2 separate regions of the Homo sapiens genome follow, and region 1 is linked to region 2. The links are contacts of gene promoters, found by promoter capture Hi-C in blood cells and fetal thymus (Javierre and others, 2016). All regions are on one chromosome and are shown on one strand. Each heading gives the region's core, a stretch centred on a gene start or on the middle of the fragment in contact. The rest is flanking DNA. Distances are from core to core; before and after follow the strand shown. Region 1 overlaps PAK1IP1 (PAK1 interacting protein 1). Region 2 holds the start of LYRM4 (LYR motif containing 4).

Region 1 (4,831 bases), core at 2,091-4,590, 5.4 Mb after region 2:
AGATGAAACAATTCACATTTATGACATGAAAAAGAAGATTGAGCATGGGGCTCTAGTGCATCACAGTGGTAAGAAAATTGTATCCCTTAAGATGAGAACATAGAGGTTTTCTTTACAATTTGACTTCAGTTGAACAATTTGTTGTATCTATTTTATAGCAGATTCTTTGCTAGAAGATAGAGGAATTTTAAAAAAAAATGGTTTCTTAGCCTGGCACAATGGCTCACACCTGTAATCCCAGCACTTTGGGAGGCTGAGGTGGGTGGATCACCTGAGGTCAGTAGCTGGAGACCAGACCTGTCTCTACTAAAATACAAAAAAAATTAGCCAGGTGTGGTGGCACACACCTGTAGTCACAGCTACTCGGGAGGCGGAGGCAGGGGAATCGTTTGAACCCGTGAGGCAGAGATTGCAGTAAGCTGAGATCACGCCACTGCATGCCAGCCTGGGCAACAGAGTGAGACTCTGTCTCAAAAAAAAAAAAAAAAGGTTTCTTGCTCTGGGTTGGCTTACGGTCTGTATTGGGAGACAGAAAGGAGGCATTTAACCCAGTCAGAGTGAGGTTTTCACTGAAACCTTCCTTAAAATGACATCTGAATTATCTTAAAAGAGAAATGTCAGTTATTGGGCAGGTAAAGTTTGCAAGGAGGGAGAAAGGACATTCCAGGCAGAGCCGGCAGTGTGAGGAGCACAAGTAGTAGCATCATAGCAATATCTGACTTTATTGAGGGCATATTATGTACCCCTCTGTGTGCCAAGAAAGTAGAAGAGAACACCTAGTTTCAAAGATGTAGCGTCACAGCAATATCTGACTTTATTGAGGGCATATTATGTACCCCTCTGTGTGCCAAGAAAGTAGAAGAGAACACCTAGTTTCAAAGATGTAGCGTCATAGCAATATCTGACTTTATTGAGGGCATATTATGTACCCCTCTGTGTGCCAAGAAAGTAGAAGAGAACACCTAGTTTCAAAGATGTTACTTGACTTGCCGAAGGTCTCAAACACTGGAACTAGAACTTGAACCTGGGCCTAGAGCCCATGCTTTTGACCACTGGTGTTCATAGGGAACCGTAAGCAGTTCCGGATTATGAGAAGGTTAAATTGGGAGTTTGAGGGGCTAGAGAAGTAGATGGGACCAGATCCTGGAGTCCTTGAGAGAGCCAGTTAGAGACTGAATTGGGAGGGAGGGAGGGAGCAAGCTAGCAAATGAATGATGTGGGCTTGAGGAAAGTACTGCCAGTTTGTATCGGAGGGGTGCTGACTGAGAACCCCAACAGAAGGACTGATGAAGGCCTGCCCCATTGGAATTGGCAGCTACGGATTGAGTAACATCAGTTTGCAAGATTTTCTGAGTTTATTCAGTAATAAGCCACAGACATTTCCCTAGAGAGAGGAAGGTTACTTGGTGTGTGCGGTAGAAGGATTGAGTTACAAGAGAATTAAGAATTTTGGTGAAGGAGTGGATTAGGTTGTCAACATAGAGAAAATGTGTTGTCAAAGGCCAGGCGCGGTGGCTCGCGCCTGTAATCCCAGCACTTTGGGAGGCCGAGGTGGGCCGAGCGTGAGGTCAGGAGATTGAGACCATCCTGGCTAACAAGGAGAAACCCCGTCTCTACGAAAAATACATAACCTTAGCTGGGCATGGTGGCACGTACCTGTAGTCCCAGCTACTTAGGAGGCTGAGGCAGGAGAATCGCTTGAACCTGGGGAGGCAGAGTGTGCAGTGAGCTGAGACTGTGCCACTGCACTCTAGCCTAGGCGACAGAGCGAGACTCTGTCTCAAAAAAAAAAAAAAAAAAAAAAGAGGAAAAGAAAAGAAAATGTGTTGTCAAGGGCCTGGAGATCTCTGAAATACAAAAGCAGGTGGAGTGTGAGTGCAGAGAGGCATGAAAGGGATGGGAAGATGTGAGCTTGTGGTCAGCAAATAGCTTCCTAGAGGTCAAGAGTTCTAACGTGGAACAGCTCTATGTGGTAACGATGCCCAGGCTGTGGGTGTAGGGGACTGAAATGCAGGGGAGGCAAAGGTCACTGGAGTTGAAGTCAAGAAGTAGTACTACAGTTCCCGGCTTGTGGTTTGGTTTTCCACACTGGTGGTCAAGGTACCCAGGATAGTGGCAGAATCAAGGGAGAGAAAGACTGAACAGGTAAATTTTTTTCTTCAGTACCAAACATTTTATGCTGTTTTTGTTGCATTTTCCCAGGGGACAGAGAATGAGGAGTAACTCAGCCAAGAAAGTTGGTTTTCTGCAAAGAAAGGCAGATAAAATGGTGCCCTTTTTCCTACCCAATCTTACATGTATTTCAGAGGATCCACACCAGGCATTGGTTTCCAGCAGTAAATTTGCAGCGATAAATGGCTTCCTTCTATTAGGTGTTCCCTTAGTTTATTCAGACTGCTATAACAAAATACCTTAGACTGAATAATTTATCAATAATAGAGATTTATTTCTCACAGTTGTAGAGGCTGGGAAGTCTAAGATTAAGGCACCAGCAGATTTTCTTGTCTCGTAAGGACTGGCTCTCTGTTGCTGTGTCCTCATGGTAGAAGGGCAAAGCAGATCCCTGCACAATTCTGTAAGGTCAAGCTTGAGAGTTGGAGCCAGTTTAAAAAAAGCAAACAAACAAACGAAAAAAACAACTTTTTTTTTGGCGGGGGCGGGGGGGCTTCTCGCTCTGTCACCCAGGCTGGAGTGCAGTGGCGCGATCTCGGCTCACTGCAGCTTCTGCCTCCTGGGTTTAAGCGATTCTCCTGCCTCAGCCTCCCAGGTAGCTTGGATTATAGGTGCCTGCCACCACGCCCAGCTAATTTTTGTATTTTTAGTAGAGACGGGTCTAACCATGTTGGCCAAGCTGGTCTTGAACTCTTGACCTCAAGTGATCCGCCCGCCTCAGCCTCCCAAAGTGCTGGGATTACAGGCGTGAGCCACCGCGCCCTGCCAAAAAAAACAACTTTTATAATGTCGCCAGTCCTCTAATCCCGTTCATGAGGGTTTGCCCTTATGACTTAGTCACCATCACCTCCTAAAGGTCTCACCTCTTAAACTATCACATTGGCAACTAAGTTTCAGCAAATGAATTTTGGGGGACACTTTCACACATGGCAGACTGTCCATTGCTGCTTTAACAGCTGTCTTGCTCTTCATCAGAAGCTGAGCTTTGAGTGATTCAAATATACATTCTTTTTTTCTCTATCTCCTAGTCCTAGTTTGTTACAAAGAAGGCTTCTCTCTCAGGTTTGGAAGAAATAAGTTAAATTTGATCTGCCCAAACCCATTAGTACAAGTGTTCAACAATAAGAAAAGGAATTACATAGAAGGAGTTTAGATTGGGGGGTGAATGAAGTAGGGCTCTTGGTTTCTTGGTTTCCTTTATTTCTTGTATAAATCCTTTTTTTCTTTTTTCTTTTTTTCCTTCAACTTTTAAGTTCAGGGGTACACATGCAGGATGTGCAGGTTTGTTACGTAGGTAAACGTCCCATGGTGGTTTGCTTTACAGATCATCCCATCACCTAGGTATTAAGCCCAGCATCCATTAGCTGTTCTTTCTAATGCTCTCCTTCCCGCAACCCTTCCCCTCCCACAGGCCCCAGTGTGTGTTGTTTTTCCCCTGTGTGAGAACATGTGGTGTTTGGTTTTCTTTTTCTTTTCTTTTCTATTTCTTTCTTTCCTTCTTTTTTGAGATGCAGTCTTTCTCTGTCACCCAGGCTGGAGTGCAGTGGCAGAGCTCGGCTCACTGCAACCTCCATCTCCCGGGTTCAAGCGATTCTTGTGCCTCAGCCTCCTGAGTAGCTGGGACTACAGGCACACACCACCACATCCAGCTAATTTTTGTATTTTCAGTAGAGACGGGGTTTCGCCATGTTGGCCAGGCTGGTATTGAACTCCTGACCTCAAGTGATCTGCCTGTCTCGGTCTCCCAAAGTGCTGGGATTACAGGCATGAGCCACCTCGCCTAGCCAGTGTTTAATTTTCTCTTCCTGCATTAGTTTGCTGGGGATAATGGCTTCCAACTCCATCCACATCCCTGCAAAGGACATGATCTCATTCCTTTTTATGGGTGCATAAATCCTATTTTTCTAAGAGTTGCTAATAGATAAGCTTTTTTCTAGGGAAGCAAATGTGGGAAACCAAACTTTCCAAAGTGAGAAATAGGATAATAGGGAGAGGAAAATATGAACAAATGAATGAGAAGTGTGTGGAAATGGATCAAAACAGATCTGAGTGATAAGGATTGGATTGTGGCTGATTGGGTAGCTAATTCACTGTTTAGAAAGTGGAAGTCATGTGGCAGTACACCTGGTTTGTTCCCCAGATTAGCTTGTTAGCTGATTAGTTTTGTTTACTTCTGCTCAAACTATCCTAGCCAGCCACCTCCTAAATTTATAATTTGAAGACATAAAGCAAGGACGTGAACTGATTTGTTCAAATCTGTATCTAAACTGGAGATACTCTGCTGAAAATATTTGCATAGATTTGAACAACTGTACTTACATGAAAAAATTTAAGGTATGTTTTAGTAATATTAAGACATTGAGGCCAGGCACAGTGGCTCACACCTGTAATCCCAGCACTTTGGGAGGCTGAGGTGGGCAGATCACTTGGGCCCAGGAGTTCAAGACCAGCCTGGGCAACATGGCATGGTGAAACACTGTATCTACAAAAAATACAAAAATTAGCTAGGTATATTGATGTGCACCTGTAGTCCCAGTTACTCAGGAGGCTGAGGTGGGAAGATTGCTTGAACCCAGGAGGCAGAGGTTGCAGTGGGATAAGATCATGCCATAGCACTTCAGCCTGGGTAACAAGAGTGAAACCCTGCCTCAAAAAAAAA
Region 2 (4,491 bases), core at 877-3,376:
GAAACCCATTTTCAATTTTCTGCCTTTCAGGTAGAGTCTTGAATGATTTTCCTAAAGTTTGAATGATTTTCCTGTTGAGTTTCGTGAATGATTTTCCTGTTCAGTTGGCAATTACTCATTTGAAAACGCTTGGGCCTCATTTGCTCATAAATCATTTCCAAAGAGAATTTCAGAAATGGAAGGGTCCTTAGAGATTGTCTAGTCCAACAGTCTATTTCATAAACAAGAAAACTGAAATACAGAGATTGAGAGACTTGTCCAAGTTAGTCTTCGAGGGCTCCACCTTGACTTTCTTACATGCTCTCACATAAACCCTCTCCCTGCCACTTTCCTTAGTGTGTGAACTGCCTGCTGATTCCAAGTCCTTGTGTATCCTGAGTAAGCTTTAATGACAAACTATTTTACTCCAGACTATGGTGAAATCAAATGGTTTCTATTTATTTAACTTGCATATTTCATGTGTTTCCTCAACAGACTTGGTTAAGTACTTGGTGCTAGGTGTTTGGTTAATTCTTGCTAAAATTCCACCAGTATGCTTATTATTACACTCTTTATTCTCCAAAGTCAAAGTCATTAAGTAAAATCATTCTCTCCCGTGAAATTTAACCACTTAACTGGGTGGATACAACCTCAGTGGTATGACCCAGATGCTGTTTTCAAATTTGCAGCATGAGTATATTTTCCAGGCGGGTTTCTAAAAATTTGAGAGTCATTGCTTAAGAGGCTTAGCGTTCCTGTCCTCTGACAGAGGTTGTACTGGGCAGACCCATCTCAGGGCCTGCCAGCTCACACACGTGCTGGAGGGGGGCCTACCTAACCAGGTGTGTTCCAAGGGTAGGCTCTGCTCTTATGACATCCAATCCACAGTCTGGCCAGTCACCTAAGTGAGGCTTGAGGTAAAGAGATGAGTTGATCCAACCAGATTCTTTCTCATGGGAATATGGCTCAAACTCAGAGAGAGACAGGTAGTTAGTAAAAACAAAACAAAACAAAAAACAAATCTAAAAAAAAATGCAGAGAGAGAATCCATAAGAAAATGATGGGTCAGAACCAGCAACACTGTGAAAGCAGAGGCTCTGAATTAGAAAAAACATACAAAGAGTAACAATAAAAGACTCATAGGCAAATAGGGGAGTGGGGAGGCGTGAGAAAAAGTGAATGTGTTATATTAAAGATGTGAGTTTAGGCCCTCAATATCCTGCTGTCAAGGTCCAGTAAGCGGGATCTCTGTCTGGTGAGCCAGGAGAAACTGAGGTTTCAGCTCCAAAGCTTGTGAGACCCTTTTTCCTTTTCCGCTACGCATTTCCACCATACCCTAAATAGAATGGATTCTTGCAACCAAAAGAACTCATTACGACACCTAGGAAATTTTAGGGAGGTGCTAGAGTGTGCCTTCAGCTTTGTCGCAGTGTACTACTCACTGGCCACTTCCACTCTCAACTCTTCCAGTGCTCAAGGGAAGTTTTACATATGCAACACACTGGCCTTAACTTCACAAATGACTGATTTCCATCCCTTTTTTCTCTTCTGCAGAAACATAACACTAATCATGCTCCTAGAATAACTACCAAGATAGCCTTTAGGGGGAAAACGTCACAAGACATGAACGTCTCCCCTGGTAGAAAGAAAGGCTCCTCCCCGAGGTCTCAGAGGCCACACCTGTAGGCAGGAGCACGCTTTTCGATGGCGGAGCCCGGTCCTTGCCTCGCAGCCGCCGGCAAACCACGGTGGCTCCCAGTCCCCGGGGATATTCCGCGTCAGCCCGCACCCCCGGTCCCCGGCCCCTGGCCCCCCGCCCCCGGCCCCCGGTGCCCGCTGGGTCACCTGTAATTGTAGGCGCTGAAACGCTTGCTCTCTCTCAGCATCGCCCGGTACAGAGATAACACTTGTGCGCGACTGGAGGCTGCCATTTTGGAAAGAAAAAAAAATAAACGGGTCCTCTTCGCCGAGGTCCCAAGTACGACCCAACCCACGAAACTCCAGCCTGTGCGGAAACCACGAACGAAATAAAATGCTGCGGCTCGGCTTTGCCAGCGGGCCGGGCCTAAGCCTAAGCGGGCAGCCCTGCGGATCGCGGACGGCGCCAGGCGTCCCGCGCCGCTTCGGGGGCGGGCGCAGGCAGGGCTCGGGGCAGCTAAGGGGGCGGTGCTGGGAGGGAGATGCCTCCGCCCCGCCCCGATCCCGCCCCCGCCCGGAGGCTCGGGACCCAGCAGCCGCTCCACGCGGCGGGAGGGCGGGGAAATAAGAGGACTGGCCGCCCGTGCATCCAGCCAAGCTCCTGGCGGACGGATATCGGAGGCCCAGGCATTCGAGGGACGTGCAGTTGCATCACGGAGAGCCTTTGGGAACCGTCTGGGGTCTTGGCGGAGACATTTGTGTTTCGGGGGCAGCGCCCCTTCCTACATCCAGGAGGCCGCGTTGCCCGGGTTACCGAAGGCCGCCGCACCGACGCCCCGCCCCTGACCGCCGATGCCCCTCCCACGCCGGCTGCGGTCGCCCTCGGCGCTGCCTGAGAGAGTTTGCGGGATTTCAAGGGTGACTTGATTTCGCCTGATCCTGGTCGGCAGGGTGGGGTTTCTTGGCATTCCTCAGGCCGGGGGATGCGACGTCTGGGTGTGGAGGTGATGAGCTAGGGGTTCTGTGGCACTCCGGCTCTGCTCAGGGCGACCTGCGTAGGGGCCTCTGGGGCAGGCCCGCTTTCTGTCAAAATGGCAGCGCCCAGCGTGCGCGGGTATCTCTGAAGTTGGGGTTTAAGATTCTTGCCCGTGAGAGCGAACGAGCCTGCCGTACTTCTGATTTTGAAACACCTGGGTCTGGGCTTCCCGGGCGAGCGGTGGGTGAGTGCCGGCCTCATTGCAGCCTGGGGTACGACGTGGGCGGTTGGTGTTGTAGGGGGTTTACATTGGCCGTGGATTTTTTCCTCTTTCCGGATGTGTTTTTGCTTTTGAGTGAAGAGTTCCCGTGGTTTTGTAACCTAATAAATGCATAAAATGCAGCTTGGGTTGTAGACTTTGGAGAATAATTAGAGACCTTTAGGGCTTTAGGCTTTCTCCAAGAAGCGGAGCAAGTTTTCAACCATGGCTTTCTTCAGAAGACTGCAGCTTTTTTGAATCATCTTATTAAAGTGGTGGATAAAGTTGCTTGTTCTGATCTTTGAGCATGGCACTGGACGCAGGAAGCTTCAGCCAGTCCTAGTTACTGTGTTTGCAAAGCACTTTTCTTGTTTTTGGAATCTTGCTTTATGTAATCAACCTTAGGAAGAACCACACCTTTCTGCACTCAAGCACAGCGAGAAGTACGTTATGCGTGAAAACAAAACAACTTTGCATTAAAATCCATCTTTCTCCGAACCACTTGGTCACGGTTGTGTTCTCATCTGCTTTAGTGTATTTGGTTTTGAAACGATATACCTGCTGTATGTCTAAACAACTTTATATTTTCAGGAACTTTTCTGTTTCCTTTTCTTTTTTTTGAGATGGAGTCTCGCTCTGTCGCCCAGGCTGGAGTGCAGTGGCGGGATCTCGGGCTCACTGCAACCTATGCCTCCCAGGTTCAAGCCATTCTCCTGCCTCAGCCTCCTGAGTGGCTGGGATTACAGGCGCGCGCTACCTCGCCCAGCTAATTTTTGTATTTTTAGTAGAGACAGGGTTTCACCATGTTGGTCAGGCTGGTCTCGAACTCCTGACCTCAGGCAATCCGCCCGCCTCGGCCTCCCAAAATGCTGGGATTACAGGTGTGAGTCATCACGCCCAGCCTCTATTTTCAGGAACTTTAAAGGCAGAAAAAACACTTCTCTGACCTTACCATTCTTTAGTGTACTTGCAACCTGGTGTCCTTGCATCCAGATATTCTTACTAATCCTGATGCAATGACATTTTTTAAAAGGCACTGAAGAGAAAATACTTTTATTAAGATATCTTTAAGTCTCCTCCCTGATTTCTTGAAAATCTCATGTCTGTTATTGTTTATTATTATTTTTTAAACAGGATAGCAAAACTTCTATTACTTCCTGGTTGGTCAGGTCATTGAGCAAATCTAGCCTCTGCTTTATTGAAAGGACTTTTTTGAGTTTTCCCTTTGCTATTTCTTAAAGGATCCAAGACCAAGGCAATTGCACATTGTTATAGAGTAAGATTCAGAGCTGATTTCTCTTGATACACTATTGTGTGCCAGTGATATGAAATGATATGCGGCACCTCAAAGCTACAACATTAATGCAAGTTACTGATAGAGAATGCTATCAGAGTGAAAAGGAAAAACTTGAAGATTATTTTGGCTTTTTTAAAAATAGCAAAGATTACATTATTTTATTATATTTTGCTTTTGAGAGTAAAGTTGGAATAATTACTATATACAATTGTTTCTACCTAATTATCAAGGAATTTAATCATTAACGTACATAATTAATGTATCTAAATTACTCAACTTTGTTGTAATCAAATAAAACTTTTCCAAATAAATATGTATAGTTTAAATAGTTTGGGTAGCTTA

Evidence for each region. Contacts are between HindIII fragments. The CHiCAGO score rates a contact against its expected background, and 5 or more counts as called.
Region 1: a fragment that was not itself captured here is called in contact with the fragment with the promoter of LYRM4 in region 2 in 1 of 17 cell types (neutrophils); the score reaches 5.1 in neutrophils.

What each region holds. Positions count from the first base shown.
Region 1 is chr6:10,697,419-10,702,249 of GRCh38, forward strand. PAK1IP1 (PAK1 interacting protein 1) reads left to right here. Exons shown (of 10, transcript NM_017906.3): 2 at 1-68. Among named protein-coding and RNA genes, the nearest start is that of PAK1IP1, 4.9 kb to the left of the region's middle. The HindIII fragment of the contact is 1,512 bases long and covers 2,585-4,096 here.
Region 2 is chr6:5,258,824-5,263,314 of GRCh38, forward strand. LYRM4 (LYR motif containing 4) reads right to left here and starts at 2,127. Exons shown (of 3, transcript NM_020408.6): 1 at 1,825-2,127. The coding sequence starts at 1,910. FARS2 (phenylalanyl-tRNA synthetase 2, mitochondrial) reads left to right here and starts at 2,690. Exons shown (of 7, transcript NM_006567.5): 1 at 2,690-2,837. RefSeq lists an enhancer at 1,358-1,407 and silencers at 1,618-1,927, 1,988-2,207. The HindIII fragment of the contact is 1,910 bases long and covers 1,268-3,177 here.